3 separate regions of the Homo sapiens genome follow, and all the other regions are linked to region 2. The links are contacts of gene promoters, found by promoter capture Hi-C in blood cells and fetal thymus (Javierre and others, 2016). All regions are on one chromosome and are shown on one strand. Each heading gives the region's core, a stretch centred on a gene start or on the middle of the fragment in contact. The rest is flanking DNA. Distances are from core to core; before and after follow the strand shown. Region 1 holds the start of LOC105376577 (a long non-coding RNA gene). Region 2 holds the start of MISFA (mitochondrial sheath formation associated). Region 3 overlaps PTPN5 (protein tyrosine phosphatase non-receptor type 5).

Region 1 (2,862 bases), core at 24-2,523, 250 kb before region 2:
TCCTCACATGTACACATACATACAGATTGTTCTTATATGTGATTTTGTTCTCTGGGAATAAAATCTTCATTCAACAGAGGCAATATGACAGAAAAACCGAAGTTTCATGTATATGATTTTTCAAAGAAAGTGAATTGGCCCTCATGTTAAACCTAGCATTTCAGAGCTGAAAGTGTCTTCTCATTAAATATTGAAGAAATCATTTGAGGGTGTGGAGAAGGATGGACAGAATTAGCTGCTTGTGTATTTATTCTTCTCCTGCAACTTTGCCACGCTATTTTGTACCTCCCTTCCTAATTATGATAAAGCTTTCTTAGAGAGCAGTCAGGCAATGTGTATTAAATGTTTAAAGCTTTACACCCTTAGTTCTACTTGTGGACATTTATTTCTTAAGAAAGATGTATACTAAGATTTAGATAGAAATATTCATTACAGTATCATAATAAAGACAGTAGCAAGGATTCTGTTATCTGTGTTGCATTAATACAATAGAGATTGATGCAACTGTTCATTATTTTGAAAGCATTAATGATAATATTGCATCAAAGAGTTCACTGAACAGATTGTACAGTACAGTTTTACACACAAAAAAAATAGTTTGTGAGCTTTAAAAGGGCCTTCAAATGAATATGCTAAACGGTTATCTTTCAATAAAGAGAGTATGGGTAAGTCTTAATTTCTTTCATTTATTTCAGTAATTTAATGTTTTTGTTGTTGTTATTGTTTGTTTTTTTGAGACAGAGTCTTGCTCTGTCACCCAGGCTGGAGTGCAGTGGTGCAATCTCAGCTCACTGCAATCTCGGCTCACTGCAACGTCTGCCTCCTGGATTCAAGCAATTCTTCTGCCTCAGCCTCCGGAGTAGCTGGGATTACAGGCGTGCACCACCATACCTAGCTAATTTTTGTATTTTTAGTAGAGACGGAGTTTTGCCATATTGGCCAGGCTGGTGTTGAACTCCTGGCCTCATGTGATCCGCCCATCTCAGCCTCCCAAAGTGCTGGGGTTACAGGCATGAGCCACTGTGCCAGCCTATTTCAGTAACTTAATGTTTTTACAGGCATGTATTACCTATAAAATTAATAAAGCCAGTGAGGTATTTCTTTTTTGAACTAAAGCAAAGCTAATAATAAGTTATAGAGAAGTTAGAGAAGAAATCTATTAAGTGATACTTTCTTTGTATACTGTTGGGCTGAGTACCCTTGATTCTTGGTGGTGAACAAGTTATCAGAAATTTCTTGGCCAGGAGCCGTGGCTCACACCTGTAGTCCCAGCACTTTGGGAGTCCAAGGTGGGTGGATCACTTGAGGTCAGAATTTCTAGATCAGCCTGGCCAGCATGGTGAAACCCTGTCTCTATTAAAAATACAGAAATTAGCCAGGCATGGTGACGTGCGCCTGTAATTCCAGCTACCTGGGAGGCTGAGGCAGCAAAATCACTTGAACCTGGCAGGCGGAGTTCGCAGTGAGCTGGGATCGCGTCGCTGCACTCCAGCCTGGATGACAGAGCAAGACTCCATCTCAAAGAAAAAATAAAAAAGAAATTTATTTACTTGTGTGAATTTTTACAATACAGATGCTTCTCGACTTAAATGGGGCTACATCCCAATAAACTCATAAGTTGCAAATACTGTAAATCAAAAATGCATTGAATACACCTAATGTATGGAACACCATAGTTTAGCCTATCCTACTTTAAATGTGTTCCGAACACTTAGATTAGCCTGTAGTTGGGCAGCATTACCTACTATAAAGTGTATTTTCTAATAAAATGTTGAATATCTCATGTAACTCATTGAATACTGAAAGTGAAAAACAATGTATGGGTACTCAAAATATGGTTTCTCTACTGAATGTGAATCACTTTGACACCATCATAAAGTTGAAAAATTCCAAGTCAAACCATTGTAAGTCAGGGGCTATCAGTATTCAGTGGTAAATGCTGGCTCTAACTATTCTTCCAAGTCAGTGGTTGACTGCTGTTTATTCTATAAAGGGTTACAATTTATAGATTCTCTCACTTGTAGAATGAGAGATTCAGAATTAATAGCAGACAGAGTCCCTACCTTGATGGAGCTTTCATTTAAGTGTGAAAGTCAGGTGACCTAACAAGGCCTTGGCATAAGTTTAGGATTTGGATTGTTATGGGAGCTTGGGTAGGGACATGTCATAGGTAAGGCAACAGCAGGGGTAGAGATAAGCTTGACATATGTCAAAAATCATGAAGACATCAGTAATCCTTGAAGTTGGCTGAAAGGTATAGAGTTGAGAAAGTAGTTAAAAAAAAAAAAGTCAGGCTGAGTCTAGGTAAGGATGTGTTTCTCTGAGGTCAGATTTGTTCCTGTACCATAAAGGGACTATTTAGAATCTTAAAGCTGGAGCAATTTAAAACGTTAAGTTTTCAGATTGAGGTCAGATTTGTGACTTCATGTGAGGTCAGATTTGTTCCTGTACCATAAAGGGACTATTTAGAATCTTAAAGCTGGAGCAATTTAAAACGTTAAGTTTTCAGATTGACGTTTTTTGAGGTATAGTTAATAACCTGAATGTTCTGATTCTAGTCTTGGTAGTCAATAAGAGTTGACCAGATGAATTTCATAGCTTTGTAGAGGATGAAATATTTCAAGGCTGATTTGCACAAATGTTTACATAGATCATGTATCTTTCATAAGTAATATGTTTGTATTATTACAAGGCTGTAAAAATTTAAGCAGGTTGTTAATAGCACAGGGGGTAACAGATTAATAAAATTAATGAATAAAATTACTAAAAGAGTCCAGAAGTAAACCCAAATACGTGGAGGAATTAAGCATATGTATGATACACATGACATTTTAAAAATCAGTGGGAAAAGGTAAATTATTT
Region 2 (2,767 bases), core at 43-2,542:
TGCGGATATTAACCCTAGAGTAAAGGCTGCTCCTGGCCTATCATAAAGCTTCAAACAAGCCTCAGAAGAATCAAACTGATCGCAAGTAACTTAAGTGCACCTTAGAATAAAATTTAACACTGTTGAATACAACAAAATCCAGCACTCGGCAATAAAATTTACCATGTTCAACATCTAATCAAAAGTTGTAAGACATTTAAAGAAGCAGGAAATATCACAACAGGCCAGGCGCGGTGGCTCATGCCTGTAATCCCAGGACTTTGAGAGGCTGAGGCGGGTGGATCACCTGAGGTCAGGAGTTCGAGACCAGCCTGGCCAACATGGTGAAACACCATCTCTACTAAAAATACAAAAATTAGCCAGGCGTGGTGGCGGGTGCCTCTAATCCCAGCTACTTGGGAGGCTGAGGCAGGAGAATCACTTGAGCCCAGGAGGCGGAGGTTGCAGTGAGCTGAGATTGCACCACTGCACTCCAGCCTGGGCGACAGAGCAAGACTCTGTCTCAAAAAAAAAAAAATTGTAGAGATGAAAAATACATTAAATGTCCATGATGTTGTAGCAGAAAAGCAAAAAATATCTTTGGTGACCTCTGAGAGGGTGTCTAATAGTGGGGTGGGGCTAGAAGTCAGAATGTAATGCATGGAAGAGGCGTAGATTGGAAAAAGCTTTGAGTATGGACCACTTGTTTAGGAAGTTTGGTCATAAAAGGAAATTAAGAAATAAGACAGGGAAGGAGCCACAGTATCATCTGGAAGTTTTTTTGAGGAAAGGACAGGGGTACCTGTGGCTTCATGATGGCCAAGAAAAGAGAATCAATGGAGAGGAACTAATCCAAGGTGATGAAGATGTGGATATACCATCATGCTGAGGATCCCCTTGACATGGGGAGAGGAGGTTTTGCAGGGACAGAAATAGAGACATCTGTCTCATTTACCTGTAATTCAGTTTGTTTCGTTCACATGTCGTACACCTAGCAGCAAAACACCTTTCCAAATCTCTGCCTCTAGTGTAAAGAGCCCAGCTGCCCAAGAGGCAGCTGAGTCCTAAGTCTTGGCCCTGATCTGGAGCATCAGCTATGTGCTGTAGTGCGGGTCACTTAGGCTGTAGTCTAAGCCTTAGTTTTCTGATTAGTGAAATGGGGTTAACAATAATGCCTACTTCATAGTGTTGCTGTTTGCTGCTCAGCTGCTGGTCTGGGGGCAGTGTCTCTGGTGTGTTTTGAGTCTGGGCCATATGGTCAATGATGTCACAATGCCCTACTAGATTTCAGCTTCTCCACTAGGGAGTTGTGGATCCTTTGGAGCCAAAGACTCGAACAGACATGCGAGACCTCTACCAACTGAAGGTTTCGTGAGCGCACTCCTTTGCCAAGATCTTGGTGAATAGTCTTTCACTGTGCAATTTTATCTTAGAAATTGTTTTACGTTTGATCATGATTGTGCTTGGCTGGATGTTTTTTGTTGGACTTGTGTGTTACATGGGCACGTTTCCAGAGTTGATGGTAAGTAATGGCTCTGCCTGTAAATCCCTGGTGGTCAGTCCTGTGCTGGCTCATCTTCCTGTCTGGGTTTTCTGACCAAATGGGAAAGATAGTTGAGGTCTCACCACTAACTGGAAGTCAGAATGTGATGGGAACAAAGTTAGTGTCCCAGGCTACCGGGCTACTTCCCATCCCACTAGGGACATCCTTTTTTATTTTTTATTTATTATTATTATTATTTTTTGAGATGGAGTTTTGCTCTTGTTGCCCAGGCTGGAGTGCAGTGGCGCGATCTCGGCTCACTGCAACCTCCGCCTCTCAGGCTCAAGCGATTCTCCTGCCTCAGCCTCCTGAGCAGCTGGGATTACAGGCATGCACCACCACGCCTGGCGAATTTTGTGTTTTTAGTAGAAACAGGGTTTCTCCATGTTGGTCAGGCTGGTCTCAAAGTCCTGACCTCAGGTGATCCACCCACCTCGGCCTCCCAAAGTGCTGGGATTACAGGCATGAGCCACCACGCCTGGCTGGGGACATCCTTTTTTTTTTTTTTTTTTTTTTTTTGGAGACGGAGTCTTGCTCTGTCGCCCAGGCTGGAATGCAGTGGTGCGATCTCGGCTCACTGCAAGCTCTGCCTCCTGGGTTCATGCCATTCTCCTGCCTCAGCCTCCCGAGTAGCTGGGACTACAGGCTCCCACCACCATGCTTGGCTAATTTTTGGTATTTTTAGTAGAGACGGGGTTTCACTGTGTTAGCCAGGATGGTCTAGATCTCCTAACTTCGTGATCCGCCTGCCTCGGCTCCCCAAAGTGCTGGGATTACAGGCGTGAGCCACTGCGCCCGGCCAGGACATCCTTTTAAGTCTTTTTTTGTTTCCCCCTCCCTTGCATATATAGCTGTACTTGTTTCAAAGCACTATGGAATTTGCAAGGGGTCTGCTGGAGACCGTATTTGACTTGCGGATTGCAGGCCAAGTGGATCAGTGGTTATTGGTAGGAAGGGGGACGGTAGGGATTGGTGGGACCTTTTAGCAGCCCTTCTGGTCACCACACAGAGTGGTTACCCACTGGGCCAATGAGTAGAGCCATCTCTGCCCTCAAATTTTCTTTCTGATTCAGCCTCCAACTCTGAAGTGGCAGGAGAGGTGGCCTGTTCAGGAGAGCAAAACACAACTGAGGAGGCGGGCTTTAGGTGAAGATCTGCTGCAGTAAGTGGGTGGTCAGGTCTGGTGGGTTGGATTCCTCCCTTTCCAAAGTACTTGGTAGCACCCTGAAGTCTCAGTGGAGAATG
Region 3 (2,753 bases), core at 182-2,681, 160 kb after region 2:
GTGACCCACCCGTCTCAGCCTCCCAAAATGCTGGGATTATAGGCTGAGCCACTGCACCCAGCCCATCCTTCAGGTTTTAACCACTTGGAATTAAAAAGAAACAGCACCGGCCGGGCGCGGTGGCTCACGCCTGTAATCCCAGCACTTTGGGAGGCCGAGGCGGGCGGATCATGAGGTCAGGAGATCGAGACCACCCCGGCTAACACGGTGAAACCCCGTCTCTACTAAAAATAAAAAAAAAATTAGCCGGGTTTGGTGGCGTATGCCTGTAATCCCAGCTACTCGGGAGGCTGAGGCAGGAGAATTGCTTAAACCCGGGAGGTGGAGGCTGCAGTGAGCCAAGATCGTGCCACTGCACTCCAGCCTGAGTGACAGAGCAAGACTCCATCAAAAAAAAAAAAAAACCAAAAAACAAAAACAAAACAAAAAGAAACAGCACCAAGGTCCTAATAAACATCCCCACCTGTCCCACACATCATTTTCATATGTGTGTGTGTGAAATTCCAAAGTTTAGAGATGTAAAGTGATTCATGCAAGATCCAAGCTCAAAAAGGGCGGAGTCCAAATTCATTCACATCCAGGGCTTCTGAATCCGACAATAAGAAACCATAAAAAAATGAGCTGTGAATAAGACTTTATGGTTTACAAATCCCCATTCCCATCCATTGTCTCACTGAATTCTTATAACTACCATGAAAAAAATTGCTTTTCTCATTTCACAGTGGAAATGCCTCATGGGAGGGATGGAGCAGTGCAGGGTTTGTCCAAGCCCATCAGTGAAAGGCAATGCCCAATACAAGGGCAGACACACTCAGCACTGTCTTTACACCCAGGAAAATGTCCCTCATCCTGATCTCACACTTTGAAGGGCCCTGCTCCAATCCTCCATCAGGTATGCTCCTCCTCACAGGTAAGGAGTCCAGGGAACCAAAGGGACATTCTCCCTGTAAGGCCACATATTCAAAACCCCAGATTCCCTGGTCAAATGCTCCTCAGCCTGATTCCTGGACCTGGTGGCCCTCTTTTTTGACTGCTTCATGAGAGTACACTGTGCTGTGTGTATTCCTAGAACTGGCTAAGGTGACTGTTTGCAGAAGGTGTGTTTGGAGCTCAGATGTGTGGGCTGGGGTACCCATCTACCCAAGTGCTCATGAGTGTCCTTGTGGTGCTGGACAGAGCAGGGGTGGACTGGAGACTGGCTTTCCCTAGACCCCATATTTTGGTGCAGAACTCAGAATTCTCTATTTGAACCTGGCTTTTAAACTCCCTACAAATGAATATTCGTCAGAGTGGAAGGACAACATATTTCCTTTCAAAGCTTATCAGCTTGCTTTCGAACAGTTAGCTATCTAGACATAACATATACAGCCTTACAAATGTTAGGGGTGGGACTGCACACAGCTGTGCTCTTTGAAGTAGCAGGGAGGAGAGCCAAAGAAAAGAGAAGAGCAAAAGAGCCGAAGATTTAAGCAACAAAGGGTCAGTAGCTCAAATAGTGGAAGGTTGGGGAAAAGAATGAGACATGGGATGAAGGCCAAGGGGAGGAAGCTTTAGGAGAGGATGAAGCTAGTGTTAGGAGGAATGTGAAAGCTTATAAAGAGGATGTGCTGGTGGATGAAGGATGGCCACAGATTCTCTGCACTCCTCCTATCAAGAGGTGGCATTTACTTCCCATCCCTTGGATCTAGGCTGACCCTGTGACTGGCTTTGATCAACAAAATGTAGTGGAGTGACATTGTGTAACTTCTGGAGCTGGGCCTTAAGAGATCTGAAGCTTCTTTTTTGCCCCTCTTAGAGTGCTCCTTCTTGGTAATCACATAAGAAGTCCAACTACCATGAGACCATCATGCTGTGAGGAAGCCCAAGGTAGGAGCACTGAGGTGCCAGACATATAATAAAAGCTTTCTCCGACATTCTATCCCAGCACAGAATGAGGTGTGTTCAGCTGAATGAGTGACCTCAGCTGATGCCACATGGAATGGAAGAATCACCCAGCTAAACCCTGCATGACCCTCCAAGTCATGAGCAAATAAAATGGTTGTTGTTTGAAGCCACTAAGTGTTGAGATCGTCAGGCAGCAACAGACAACCAAAACAGATGCTGAGATCTGAAATGAAGAAATGAGCTTCAATGGAAGGATGAGTTTTTTTTTTTTTTCTTCAGATATAAAGAATTCCTGAGAGCTGGGGTGATTTGTCCCTGAGCCAGACCAAAGAGAAAGGTAATGGCATCTGTCACTGCATATGTTAGGAGTACGATGGATGTCCATTTGTCTAAAAGGGCATTGGCATCAACCTTTGAAGATGCAGGGGACTGGACCAGATGCATTCCTTCTTTCAGTTGCAAAGACTCTCTTTAAGTGTCATCACACATCCAGGCAACTCCCTAGAATATGAGAACTGTTTCTATCCTGGTGAAGGAAAACGGAGGATCATTCTCCCCACCAACCCTGGCCCCTTAAATATGTAAGCATAAAACACTCCTGCCTGTGGCTGTGCTGGTTCAGTGAGGTCTCAGACCTGTGGTGGGGAGTCAAGAAAGGACCACCAGATACACTACCCCACTCCACTGCTGTAGAACTGGCCTGGACCTGACGCCCGAGCCCCAGGCACAGGAACACAAAGAAAGAAAAAACACAAAGGAAAAAAAGGTTTTTTTTCTGTTCACATTCCATATCCTGGAACAACCATCACCGTCACTATTAGCTATCATTTATAGAGCACTCTGTAATAAGCACTTTACGTCCATGAACT

Evidence for each region. The method cuts DNA at HindIII sites, captures the fragments that hold promoters and counts their contacts. A CHiCAGO score of 5 or more calls a contact.
Region 1: a fragment that was not itself captured here is called in contact with the fragment with the promoter of MISFA in region 2 in 3 of 17 cell types (neutrophils, total CD8 T cells and activated CD4 T cells); the score reaches 6.6 in neutrophils.
Region 3: a fragment that was not itself captured here is called in contact with the fragment with the promoter of MISFA in region 2 in 2 of 17 cell types (activated CD4 T cells and naive CD4 T cells); the score reaches 6.3 in activated CD4 T cells.

What each region holds. Positions count from the first base shown.
Region 1 is chr11:18,348,163-18,351,024 of GRCh38, forward strand. All of the region lies in intron 9 of GTF2H1 (general transcription factor IIH subunit 1), which reads left to right. It overlaps LOC105376577 (a long non-coding RNA gene), which reads left to right and starts at 955. Exons shown (of 2, transcript XR_007062611.1): 1 at 955-2,325; 2 at 2,433-2,862. The HindIII fragment of the contact is 1,846 bases long and covers 351-2,196 here.
Region 2 is chr11:18,598,497-18,601,263 of GRCh38, forward strand. It overlaps MISFA (mitochondrial sheath formation associated), which reads left to right and starts at 1,293. Exons shown (of 4, transcript NM_001355570.4): 1 at 1,293-1,501; 2 at 2,596-2,684. The coding sequence starts at 1,433. It overlaps LOC112268073 (a long non-coding RNA gene), which reads right to left and starts at 1,051. Exons shown (of 4, transcript XR_002957242.2): 1 at 935-1,051. The HindIII fragment of the contact is 4,225 bases long and covers 664-2,767 here.
Region 3 is chr11:18,756,533-18,759,285 of GRCh38, forward strand. The region is part of intron 3 of PTPN5 (protein tyrosine phosphatase non-receptor type 5); the gene reads right to left. Among named protein-coding and RNA genes, the nearest start is that of IGSF22, 32 kb to the left of the region's middle. The HindIII fragment of the contact is 230 bases long and covers 1,317-1,546 here.